2 separate regions of the Homo sapiens genome follow, and region 1 is linked to region 2. The links are contacts of gene promoters, found by promoter capture Hi-C in human tissues and cell types (Jung and others, 2019). All regions are on one chromosome and are shown on one strand. Each heading gives the region's core, a stretch centred on a gene start or on the middle of the fragment in contact. The rest is flanking DNA. Distances are from core to core; before and after follow the strand shown. Region 1 has its middle 260 kb from the start of SH3GL2. Region 2 holds the start of SH3GL2 (SH3 domain containing GRB2 like 2, endophilin A1).

Region 1 (6,744 bases), core at 1,556-4,055, 260 kb before region 2:
AGGTCAAGGAGTAAAATCATCAGCAAGCTTACATGGAAATAGACATAGAGGCAATCAATTTTGAAATAAGATACAGTGGATATAAAAGAGCATTTAACAAATGTTTCTTCAAGTTCTATGTATTCAACTGTTATTTCTAAATCTATTTTATTTAACCATATAGAGATTAAAATGCACTTCCCAAGTAATTAACCGAATAATGTGAAAACTAAACAAAATTTAGGCAGCATTAGAAGTACAGAAACTAGAAAGAGGAAGGTAATGCCATCGCTCCACCTGTGCTGTGTGTTCCAAACTCCACTTTTTAAGAGGGAGTAGGGATGACCTGGGGCCTGGTCAAAGGAGAGAAACCAGAGTGGTAGAAAGACACAAAACCTTGTCATTTAGAGACTGTTCAAGAACTAGGATTGCCTTGTAAGAGTGGTGAGGGCTCAAGGGGCAAAGGGGCATGATACCCTTTTTTAAAAAATGTAAAGCCAATTATGTGATTTTAAATGTGTTGGTATAACAGTTCCAGAACAAGTGCTGGGCACTGGCTGCAGAAAGTTACTATGGAATGTAATGCCTCAGTGGTAGTAAGTTCCCTTTCACGGGAAGGGTGGATGGTCCATCAACAGTGGTGTGGTAGACATATTTGAGCATTGGTTGAAATTGGATTGGGATGAGAGGGATTGAGGAGAGTGGTGCAATGGTCACACCAAGAGAGCAGCCCTAGAAGTAGACACATTTGAGGGCCTTGCCCACTCATTTTCCTTAACTCTAAACCCTCTACTTAACTCATCTGAGCTTCAGTTGCTTCACCAGGAAATGGAGATAACAGTGCCTGTCTCATAAGGTTATTTTGAGAAACAGATGCATTAATGCATACAGAGAGCTTCGCATTCTGCTTAGCTTGTAGTCCTTAATACATGACATCTGTTCTTACCATTAATTACGAGCTTTATGGTTTTTATTACCCTGATAGTCAAATGTAAACTTTCCAAATTCTCTAGATCCAAGGAACTTAACCGACAACACTTAGGTTCCTAACCACAAGGTGGCAGACAGATTGTCACCCTAACTATTATACTCTGGGATGGAGCTTGGAGATAAGAAGCAATGAGAAAGCAGTAATAGGATGAAAGGGGAAAGAGAAATGAACCGGACCTGGTGGGACCCTGGTGGGTCCCTGCTGAGAGCTGTGAAATCAGGCCATGGATTTATAGGGATTTTACTGTGCTTTGACTTTTACATAATTATTTTTTTTTGGTTTGGCTTTTATGAGAATAAAATATCTTTTGAATAAATAGGAGTTTTCCTGAAAGCTGATGTTTATGGTGACTTTACTTCACGATAGGGAGACAAGTGCAAAAAGATGGCTAGAAAACGAGTGTGTGTTTACCGTCATGCAAGGAAGATACCAGACATAAATATGGCAACACCCTTCCCACTCGTCCACAGCTGCCACAGACTCAGGCTCATAGCTACAAGCATGAAAATCAAACCCGCTCATATAGGCACCCGAGAGTTCTTTCTTGCCTACTTTTTTCCCAAGCTTACCCTCTCCAGACTCCCAGTAAAAGAAATATAAAAGCACAACTTTCCCCTGGGGAAGGATGGACATGGGACCAGATGAGTGGATTCTAGTCCCACCTTGGCTATTTAAGGAGATGTTCTGGTTTGGACAAGTTAATCAATCAGTGTTCTCACCCCCACGGTGAAGGGCATAACCTAACCCTGATCCATCTCTAAAAGGTTCTTTCATCCTAATGGTCTCTTAACTCTCTAAGGCAGAGAGGAAGACCTTTCTCTGAAGCCTAGCATGTAATCTTAGCTACCTGAATCATGAGCCACAATTCACACAAAAGCACCCTGATACATACAATGTTAGAAGAACTGGAAGAAATTTTGGAAAGTAAGTAGTTCTGCCCTTTTGCTTTATAGATGAAAAAATTGATAAGGTAATTTTACCAAGGACAGACAGCGAATTCAAGATTAGGCCAGGACTAGGCTCAAGCCCTTGGAAATTCTAAGAATCATTCCCAAACATGTACTTACACACACCCCACACCCCACACATAATAACGTTTTTAGAGTATTGTTAAACATTATTTAGATTCCATAAAATTCATCCATTTTAATTTTACAATTTAATGATTCTTAGTGAATTGACAGAGTTGTGAAACTATCTCCAAAATCCAATTTTAGCATATTTTTATTCCCCCATAAAGATTGCTAGTGCCCATTTGCTGTCACTCCATTCCCATCACAGGCAAACACCAATCTGCTACATGCCTTTATAGATTTATTTATCTCAAGATATATATAAATAGAATCATATAATATGTAGTCTTTCCCCCAATTTTAGAGGAAAAAGCAGTCAGTCTTTAACCAATAAGTATTATATAATGCTACTTACAGATTTTTCATAGAATTCCTCTATCAGGTTGAGAAAAGTATTTTCCATTTACAGTTTACTAAAAAATTTTATCATGAATGAGGATTAGATTTTTGTCAAATGTTTTGTGCATGTATTGAGATGACCATGTGATTTTTGTCTTTATTCATAGTATTATATTAATGTGACATTACATTGATTGATTTTTAGATAGTAAACCAACCTTCTATTACTAGGGGAAATCCTACTTTGGCACGGTGTATAATCATATTATATGTTGCTGGATTCATTTTGCTAATATCTCGCTGAAGATTTTTGCATCTACAACCATGAGGAATATTGGTCTGTAGTTTTATTTTCTTGAGATGTCTTTGTCCAGCTTTGTATAAGGGTATACTGGTCTCATGGAATTTGTTCAGAAATGTTCTCTCTTACAATTTGTGGAAATGTTTTTTTAAAAAATTGGTGTTTTATAGAATTCACCAGTGAAGATATCTGGACCTATGCTTTTCTCTGAGGGAAGATTTTTTCCATTACTATTAAAATTCTTTACTAGTCTATGCATGTTTTCTATTTCTTCTTTAGTCAGTTTCATTAATTTGTATCATGCTATGAACTATTTCATCTACATTGTCTAATTTGTTAGCTTAAAATTGTTCATCATGTGCTCTTATAATCCTCTTAATTTCTGTGAGATTAGTAGTGATGTCTCCTTTTTCATTTTTTTTTTTTTTTGTCAGTTTAAATCAGGTATCTCAACCTTAGTACTATTGATATTTGGGCACAATAATTTTAGCATGGAGGGGCTGTCGTGCATTGTAGAATATTTAGGAGCATCTCTGATCTCTACCCACGAGTTGTCACACACACACACACACACACACACACACACACACACACACACAAAGCATTACAATTAAATTTTTCTCCAGACATTGACAAAATATCCCTTGGGGTACAAAATCACCCTTGGTTGAGAACCACTGGTCTAGATGAGATTTTAATTTTGTTGGTCTTTTCAAATAACCAACTTTTGTTTTCCCTGATTTTACCTAATTTTCTGCTTTCCATTTCATTAGTGTCTGCTCTAATCTTTATTATATCCTACATTCCACTTGCTTTGGGGTGAATTTACTTTTTTTTCAGTTTCTTAAGGTGGAAGCTTTGGTTATTAATGTGGGGTATGCAAGGTCATTTTAAGACAAATTATATTTTGGACAACTTGGATTTTAGAAAACCTAGTCTCTTAGCTAGAAGAAAGGTTTATATGTTAAAAACTAGAAAGTAGTAAAGAAAAGCTTTTCCCCAGCACTCATTCTTACCTTCTCTAAACAAAATACTACGTAAACGAAAGAGCCATGGTGTTCTTCTAGACTGCTCTTACCTATTAACCCAGGCTTCCTTAAATTACATGAATCTTCAGCCTCTTCTTGAAGCTTCTTTCCCACCTCCCATCTACATCCTGATTTATGGTTCCTCTTTTCATTCACTCACACTGATAAATTAGCTAATCTGATTGAGCAACTGTTACTGACAACATCAGAGAATATTTTGACTTTACCGCTATGCAATCTATCCATGTAACAAAATTTCTTTTAGGAAAACTAGACTTTAAAACAAAGACATTTTCAAATCATGGAAGGATAGAGAAAATATAGCTTAACACATCAGAAAGGAAAACTTAGTTTGGTCAGGCTGAGATCAACCTCCATTCCATGAGCAGGTGCTAAAGCCGGGATGAGGATACCACTGGGAGTTAAAGAGAGACATCCCATTAAGACTCTTTGGCTAGCATTAGAGCTGACCCATGGAAACCAAATTTAGTGCATGAGCACCAAGATCATCAGGAGCAGAGCTGACAACAGGAGACTGGACAAAAATGAGGAGCAGGGCAAAATATGAACAAGGCAAAAAGTAAAGAGGGTCTTGACATTTCCATTTAGTCTGCAGGTTACATTTCTGGGTTCACCAGTCACCTAGGGTGCATCAATGATCTGGTAATTAATTACAGGAAATCTGGCCATCAGCTGTCAGCCTGTTCTGCCCAAGTGCTGTGCACAGGAGACAAGTGCTGTGCCCTGTCTGCATGTAAGGCACATGTATGCTCTAAAGGGCCTAGGAAGAGGAAAGCAGTTCAGCTCCACACTTCCTTCCTTGATCCCAGTCCCTCTCTCAATCTCTATCCTCGTCCCTGTCCCTTTGCCAGTCTCAATCCGCCTTCCATTTTCCTTCACCCTTTTAGTTCCTCTCTTGCTGCCCAGACCTGGCTTCTCTCACATATTACATTACCCAGGGTTATAAGCAGAACTAAGTTCAGGGCTGTAAGAAATATTCTTTTCCCACCTCAAACTCTGCTTCTTACATAACATCAGTTCTTCCTATTTCAGGAAAATCTGGGTGTGGTACACTGGTGTTTACAGTACAAGAACATATCACAGCATTACATAGCCACACAACTGGGAAAATGCTGAAATTGGAAAACTTGGGCTGGAACTGAGATCCTGTGGCTACCCTTGTTCTAAGCTATGAAACATGTCTATCAGCTGGAGAATGAATATTTTAAAAGAGGGGAAAGTTAACAGAAAGAGGTTTTCTAAAAACAGGGAAAAGGGAACCTACACAGTGCTACCTGCGTGTTATAGGAGCTTTACACGCACAGTCCTATTCACTACATAGCGATGGTTCAGTAAACAATGGACCACATACGTGATGGTGGTCCTGTAAGATTATGACAGAGCCAAAAAATTCCTATTACCTAGTGACGTCATAGGCGTATGACATATTTCTATAATGCAATGGAGTACTCACGTTTGTAGTGACTACACCACCAGTTGCATAAAAGTACAGCACATACAATTATGTACAGTAAATAATACTTAATAAATATGTTATTAGTTTATGTATTTCCTATATTATACTTTTCATTGTTATTTAGAAAAAAACTTTCTTATTCCTTCTACTTATTTTTTAAAAAAGCCAATTGTAAAACCGTCTCAGGCAGGTCCTTCTGGAGGTATTCCAGAAGAAGGCATTGTTAACACAGGAGGTGACAGCTCCGTGCATGTTACTGAGTGTGGAGACCTTCCAGTGGGACAGGACGTGAAGGTGGAAGATGGTGATACTGATGACCCTGACTCTGTGTGTACCTAGGTTAATATGTGTGTTTGTGTCTTAGTTTTTAACACAAATATCTAAAAAGTAGGAAAATAATTCAAAATAGAAAATAAAGAAAATAATTTTGTACAGCTAGACAATGTTTTAAGCTAAGTGATTTTACAAAAGAGTCAAAAAGTTTTTCACAATTAAAAAGTTTATAAAGAAAAACGGTTATAATAAGCTAAGGTTAATTTATTATTGAAGAAAGAAAACTTTTAAAATAAATTTGATGTACAGTAGTGTAAAGTAACGTCCTAGGCCTTCACATTCACTCACTCACTGACTCACCCAGAGCAACTCCAGTCTTGTAAGCTTAATTCCTGGTAGCACCCTATGCAGAGATACCCTTTTTTAAATCTTTTATATAATATTTTTACTGTAGCTTTCTATGTTTAGATATGTTTAGATACACAGACAGCATTGTGCTACAGTTGCCTACAGTATTCAGTATAGTCACATTCTATACAGGTTTGCATTCTAGGAGCAATAGGCTATACCACAGAGCCTAGATGTGTAGTAGGCTCTACCATCTAGGTTTGTGTGAGAACACTCTATGATGTTTGCTCAATGATTAAATCGCCCAAGACTGCAGTTCTTACAACATGTCCCTGCCAAGCAACACATGACTGTATTGTCTAATTTAATTCTTGCAACTCCATAAAGGAGCTCTTATCTTCCCACTTTTACAGAGGAGGAAAATGAGCCCCATAGACCTTAAGTAGCTTGCCCACTGTGAGCATGTGGCAAAGCTGGAATTCCGAGGACTGAATGACTCCAAAGCCTCCTCTTTGACCACCAGACTGCTTCACACATCAGTCAGTGGAGAAAATGATGGTTACCTCGATAATCTCTCCAGTCTTTGTGAAGAAAAATCTCTCCAATCTTTTTTTTTTTTTTTTTTTTTTTTTTTTGAGAAAGGCTCTCACTCTGTTGCCCAGGCTGGAGTGCGGTGACATGATCTTGACTCATGTCCCGAGACACAGCCCTTAGAAGGTCCTGAGAATATGTGCCCAAGGTGGTCAAGGTATAGCTTGGTTTTATACATTTTAGGAAGGCATGAGACATCAATCAAATACATTTGATATGGTAGCCTCAACTCCCAGGTTCAAGTGATCCTCCTACCTCATCCTCCCCCAAAACTGGGACTACAGGTGTGAGCCACCATACCTGGCTAATTTATTTGATATTTTTATAGAGATGAGGTGTCACTA
Region 2 (5,864 bases), core at 18-2,517:
TACTTCCGAGAAATTATGAGAAAGCTCGTTAATTAAGGCTAACCTATGAAAAACTATTTAACACCAAATCATGAAAAACATTTCGCGGTAAGTCATCAAAATCCTTAAAGATCCCATAAATTTGAACCTATTTCAGAAGGATAAAAAAGTAGTAATCACACACATTATGTAAGAAATAGGTCACAGCGTAAGTATTCGCTTACTTGCCCCTATGTAAAATTCTTTGAGTCCAATGATTTTAATTATTAGAATCTAAATTAATCAGTTTTATTACAGTCACAGCTTATTAACCCCATAAAGAAAAATGGGCACATCCAAGATGCCAAAGATTTATTAAAAACAATTTAAAATACATGATGATTTTAAGTCTTCAACAATTTGGTTGTTTTAGGGAAATATTTAAGACCCGCAGACTGTTTGTCATGCCCTGGCCTCAAAGGAGTTTCACGACCGAGTTCTCCAGGTAAAAGTTAATGTATGCGGGTCCCTAAAGGAAGACCCCAGCCTTCCATTCCCCTGGAGCCTGCGGGCGGCGGGGAAGGAGGGTTCTGACAACAGGGTAAGGGAGAGGAGCGCAAACCGCCGGCCTCCGCCCCGCCACCCCCAGTGCGGCCACCGCTCATGCCAACACATCCCGGGAAAGCCGGGTGCACCGACTCCGCAAGGTCACCCGTGAAGAGGCGACTTTACATAATCTCCCACCGCGCCGCCAAGGCACCTGCGCGCCGCGGCAGCAGTGCAGCCGCGGTCCCCTTCCTGCAGCACGGGCGCGAGATGATGCGGGGGCGGCGAGCAGCGCTACCAGGCAGGACGCCGGGGACCCGCGGGAAGGCAGCGCGCACCAAGCCGGGGGCGGGGGACCGAGGGTGGACGCCCAGACCGGGGATGCCCCGAGCCGCCGCCTTGGCTTGCGAGGCGGGGCGCGGCCGGCGCGGGCGAGGCTCGGTGCCGAACTCCCCAAGCTGCCGCCGGACGGCCAGCGCCGAGCGCGCCCCTCGCAGCTTCGCCCCGGACTGCCCCGGGACGCACCTGCCGCGCGCCTTACCTGAGTGGCTTTATGGAACTGCTTCTTGAGGCCGGCCACCGACATGGTGCAGGAGGCCGCGCTGGCGGCTGCTGTGCGGGAGGGAGGAGGCGGAGGGGGACTGGAGGGCCGAGCGGGGCGGCGCGCTCCCCTGGCCGCCTCTGGTCGTGCCGCCGCCGGGGCTATGGGCGCGAGGGCGCGGAGCCTAGCGGGACACGGGCTCTTGCGGAGAAACACTCTGACGTCAAGGGCGGGTGATGCGGCCTCTTAAAGGGGACGCGGGAAGCCCCGCCCCAAGCGCGGGAACGCCCAGGCAGGTGCTGTGGCGCGCGGTACCTGGATGCTGGCGCCAACTGCGGGGATGTGGCTCAGCGGCACCCGCTGGCGGATCCCTAGTCAGCGGGCCGAGGACGTCCTCCTGTCCCGGGGTTGGTGTTCCTGCCCCCGGGGGCTGCGGACGGGTCGCTGCAGATTGGCAGCCCAGGCACCCGCAGGACTCAGGTGACTTGCTGGGCTTCCAGGTAGCCGCGGCGGCGCTGCCTGCAGACGGCCCTCCTGCCCTTTGAGCCTGGCGTCTCTGCGCCGCAGCCTGAAAAAGACTGGCCTTCTATCTGGGCTAATGAATAAGTCATTGCTCCTTCTATGCCTTGCCCTGACTGGTGGGTCACAGAAAACATTTCTCTGCCCTGGTTTCAATATCCCTTAAGCCCATCTTACCTTAGGGAAAGTCACACACGCGTTTTCCCCCTTGTCTGATACAATTTAATGACTTAAAAAGAAGAACAGGAACCCTTAAGCCTGGACGGATAAATAGAATTGAAGTCTTACTACAAAACTAGCGTTCAATCCTCTGGTTACAGAAATGAAAAAGCCCAAATGTGATCTTGTTGTTATGCTTGTGGATTTAGGGTTTCCGGTCCGATAAAAATCAAAATATAATGTGAAAAAGCATGATACTAAGTTATATACAGATGCTTCATATGTAACCAAGGAGGTATGGCTGGCTAAAGTGAAACTAATAGATGACTTGGGAGCAGAGCAGCACTAAATGCCTTCTGTGCTCTGGTACTTAACCAAGTCTGGTTTTTCTAGGACTGAGGAGGTGGTCAGAAAGAACTTAGACGCTGTCCCCGTATGTGGACCAAAGTGATAAGAAGGAGAAGCCAAGATGGGAGAAATTGCCAAGGATGTGTAGAGACTGCAAGGCCAAATGGGAGTCCTAGAAATACTTTTTCTGTCTCCGCAACTCCTGCAGCCTGATAGGAGCCACAGACCCATCCCCACTCTTCTAGGCACTGCGGCTTGGGCACAGGGTGAACACCTGCTACAAAAGGGTCCTCCATCCGTAGAGCTACCAGTCATGGTCCTTCTTGATAATGTGAACTGACACACACAAAGGCAGAGTCAAGCAGTGGTGGGCACTGGAGCAGTAGAGCGCATGGACTAGGGACGCAGGCTGCAAAGGGAGGCAGATGAAAGGAGCTATTCTCCAGTGTGGTAGCCCTTACCACTGTTCATATACCTTTCCCTACATGGCAGAATTGCACTTTCCAAACCTCTTGTTAAGTGGAGGCATGGTTACAAGTTTTGACTAGAGGTTTAAGAGGAAAAGTGACTGTCACTTCTGCAGCAGCAATATGAGATGTATGAGATGCCGCAAAGCTTTCTTTTCCTCGGCCGCAATATTCTAGAAAGCTGTGGTCTGTCAGCCAGTATCCAGAGTGAGACTAAAGCAGTGCAGAGTCCCCACCTGACGTTCAATGGGCATGTAGCATCAGTGAGAAACCTGAGTAATTTTAATCCACTGAGGCTCCGGTTGTTAGGAATAAACTTTTTTCTCTATGTTTCCAATTTTTAAAAAGGCTACCCATTACTTGCATAATAGAAAAAAAAGTATTTTATAGTTAATTTTTACTACCAGGTCCCTGATCTGAACAATAAAGCATTTTCATAAGACAGGGCTTTGTTGAAGCTGCCAAAAGATAGAGCAATTGATCTACAAAGTGGAAGGGCCTGGGATGGATAGGAGCTCTGCTCTCTAACAGTGAAAGGTGTGAAATGGGGGCCTGAATTGCCTCCTTGGAACTTTGAATACTTAACTGAGCCCTACATTATAAAAAAGGCAGTTTCTATCTTTCCCTGGTTCTTCATCCACCAACCTGGAAGTCTCATGCTGCTTAACTTCAAAGAAACTACCTTGGGAGAAAAAAACTACTTAAGGGCATTACATTAAATCCTTTGGAAACCATTGATTTAGTCGCCCAGGCATCCTCTGCACCTCATCTTATATGGTTTGGCTGTGTCCCCACCCAAATCTCATCTTGAATTGTAACTCTCACAATTCCCACGTGTCGTGGGAGGAACCCAGTGGGAGTGATTGAATTATGGGGGTGGGTCTTTCCTACACTGTTCTCGTGGTAGTGAATGAGTCTTACAAGATCTGATGGTTTTAAAAACAGGAGTGTCTAGTTCAACCATTGTGGAAGTCAGTGTGGCGATTCCTCAGGGATCTAGAACTAGAAATACCATTTGACCCAGCCATCCCATTACTGGGTATATACCCAAAGGACTATAAATCATGCTGCTATAAAGACACATGCACACGTATGTTTATTGCGGCATTATTCACAATAGCAAAGACTTGGAACCAACCCAAATGTCCAACAATGATAGACTGGATTAAGAAAATGTGGCACATATACACCATGGAATACTATGCAGCCATAAAAAATGATGAGTTCATGTCCTTTGTAGGGACATGGATGAAATTGGAAATCATCATTCTCAGTAAACTATCGCAAGAACAAAAAACCAAACACCGCATATTCTCACTCATAGGTGGGAATTGAACAATGAGATCACATGGACACAGGAAGGGGAACATCACACTCTGGGGACTGTTGTGGGGTGGGGGGAGGGGGGAGGGATAGCACTGGGAGATAAACCTAATGCTAGATGACGAGTTAATGGGTGCAGCACACCAGCATGGCACATGTATACATATGTAACTAACCTGCACAATGTGCACATGTACCCTAAAACTTAAAATATAATAATAAAAGAAAAAAAAAACAAACAGGAGTTTCCCTGCACAAGCTCTCTTCTCTTGTCTGCTGCCATGTGAGAGGTGCCTTTCACCTTCTGCCATGATTGTCAGGCCTCCCCAGCCAGGTGGAACTGTGAATCCAATTAAACTTCTTTCTTTTGTAAATTGCCCAGTCTCAGGTATGTCTTTATCAGCAGCGTAAAAACAGACTGATACATCATCTAAACCCAGCATTTGTATTGAAGCCACAATTTATGCCTGTAAAGACCTTTGAGATGTCACCTTTGAAGAAATTTGTTAAGCTCCTCCTACTAGCAAGCATCATGGTAGGAGATGCTGGGATTGAGAAGGGGAAGTATCGAGGCATGTATGGGCTGGACCTTGAATCCCAAGGGGTTTCCAGACGAGTAATTTGAAAAAAAAATCTTCCTAGGGACATTTATTGTTACTTGAATACAGAGGAACAAATACCCCAGACACTGAACAATTCTAAGCATGGATGCCATCTTTGGTTGCAAAGAATCTTCAACAGAGGCTTTGGAGAGAAATGCAGAAGCACAATGCAGGGAAAGGGGAATCAAAAGTCAACGAGGAAGAGCTTTGTTTGGTAAAAGGTTGTGGTAATTCAGCATGCTGCCCTAGTCTCCCGAGATAAAAATCAATGTAAACTGTTAAATAAACCTAGATCTGCTCAGGAAAGTCCCAATTAAATGAAACCCCCACAAAATATCACCTCACTAATTGGGCAGTAAATTCGTGGTCAGCAATAATCCCATCACATCATTCATGCACTATTTCTCCTTGCATTATGGTAAAGCTTCTGGCAAATACCAGACCTCTCATTTGCACAGAGCTGCTGCATCCCTGGCACCTTTCAGAGGGTCCCTAGCTTCAAGGAGGCAGAGGAAAAGCAGCAGCATTCATCTTTCTGAGCTTCAACCCCTGTCTCTGTGCCTCTGGCTCATACCGGGGCAAACTACTCCTGACTTCATGTGTAAGCTCGTTAAGCATAAGAAACATTGCAAAGCAAAGGCATTAAACTCCAACTTCTTATTTTAGAGATAGGAAAACAGAGGCAATGAAGGGAAGTGACTTATCCTTACTTTTTCTACTCCAGCCTTTAGCCTCAATTCAGGGTAGAGCCTCTAGTCAGTGTTAATAAATAGAAGAGGTTTGAATGAATGAATGAATGAATAAAAGAATGAACAATGTATCATTGACACTGATGCTTTCTTCTGACCACATTGGATCTGATGTTCAAAAGCCTTCACCAGATACTAAAACCTCGATTGCGCAGGACCCAGTTTTTCCAGGGTGAGTGGCGCTTAACATAAGATTTTGTGCCTTTGGATGCGCCCCAGTAGCATTGAACACCCACCTAGCTCAGGCAGGGCTAACACGCCCTTTCCTAGAGATGAGAAATCAAGGGAAAGACCATCTTTGTTTCCTTGCTTCCAGTTTTGTCACCTACCACCCACTCTCCAACAGATACACAGAGAGAAGCATTTTTTTTTAACCTCTTTTGAAGTGGATGTGTGGGTCTTTCTGCCGGGGATGGCCACCTTTCCCACCTTTCCTTCTCTCCCATATAGCCCTCCTCCCCCCAAAGTACAGGGGCCTCTCCCTGCAAAAACTTCCTTTTCACTTAGATAAACCCTTTTAACCCAATCACAGAGGAGAAGAAAGTGCTTAACCAAGTGGGTGACTCATGTTAGACTCTTCATCTGTACCATCATCACTATTTCCATTGCAGATTGAAATAGTTCTGACTTCCCCACAAAATCCTGCCACCTC

What was found. Contacts are between HindIII fragments. The study calls those that stand out against the background at their distance.
Region 1: a contact is called between a fragment that was not itself captured here and the fragment with the promoter of SH3GL2 in region 2, in 2 of the 25 tissues and cell types used here (neural progenitor cells and thymus).

Annotation. Positions count from the first base shown.
Region 1 is chr9:17,832,427-17,839,170 of GRCh38, reverse strand. No RefSeq gene overlaps it. Among named protein-coding and RNA genes, the nearest start is that of SH3GL2, 260 kb to the right of the region's middle. The HindIII fragment of the contact is 4,048 bases long and covers 782-4,829 here.
Region 2 is chr9:17,574,469-17,580,332 of GRCh38, reverse strand. SH3GL2 (SH3 domain containing GRB2 like 2, endophilin A1) reads right to left here and starts at 1,267. Exons shown (of 9, transcript NM_003026.5): 1 at 1,046-1,267. The coding sequence starts at 1,090. RefSeq lists a silencer at 2,257-2,455. The HindIII fragment of the contact is 4,711 bases long and covers 1-3,787 here.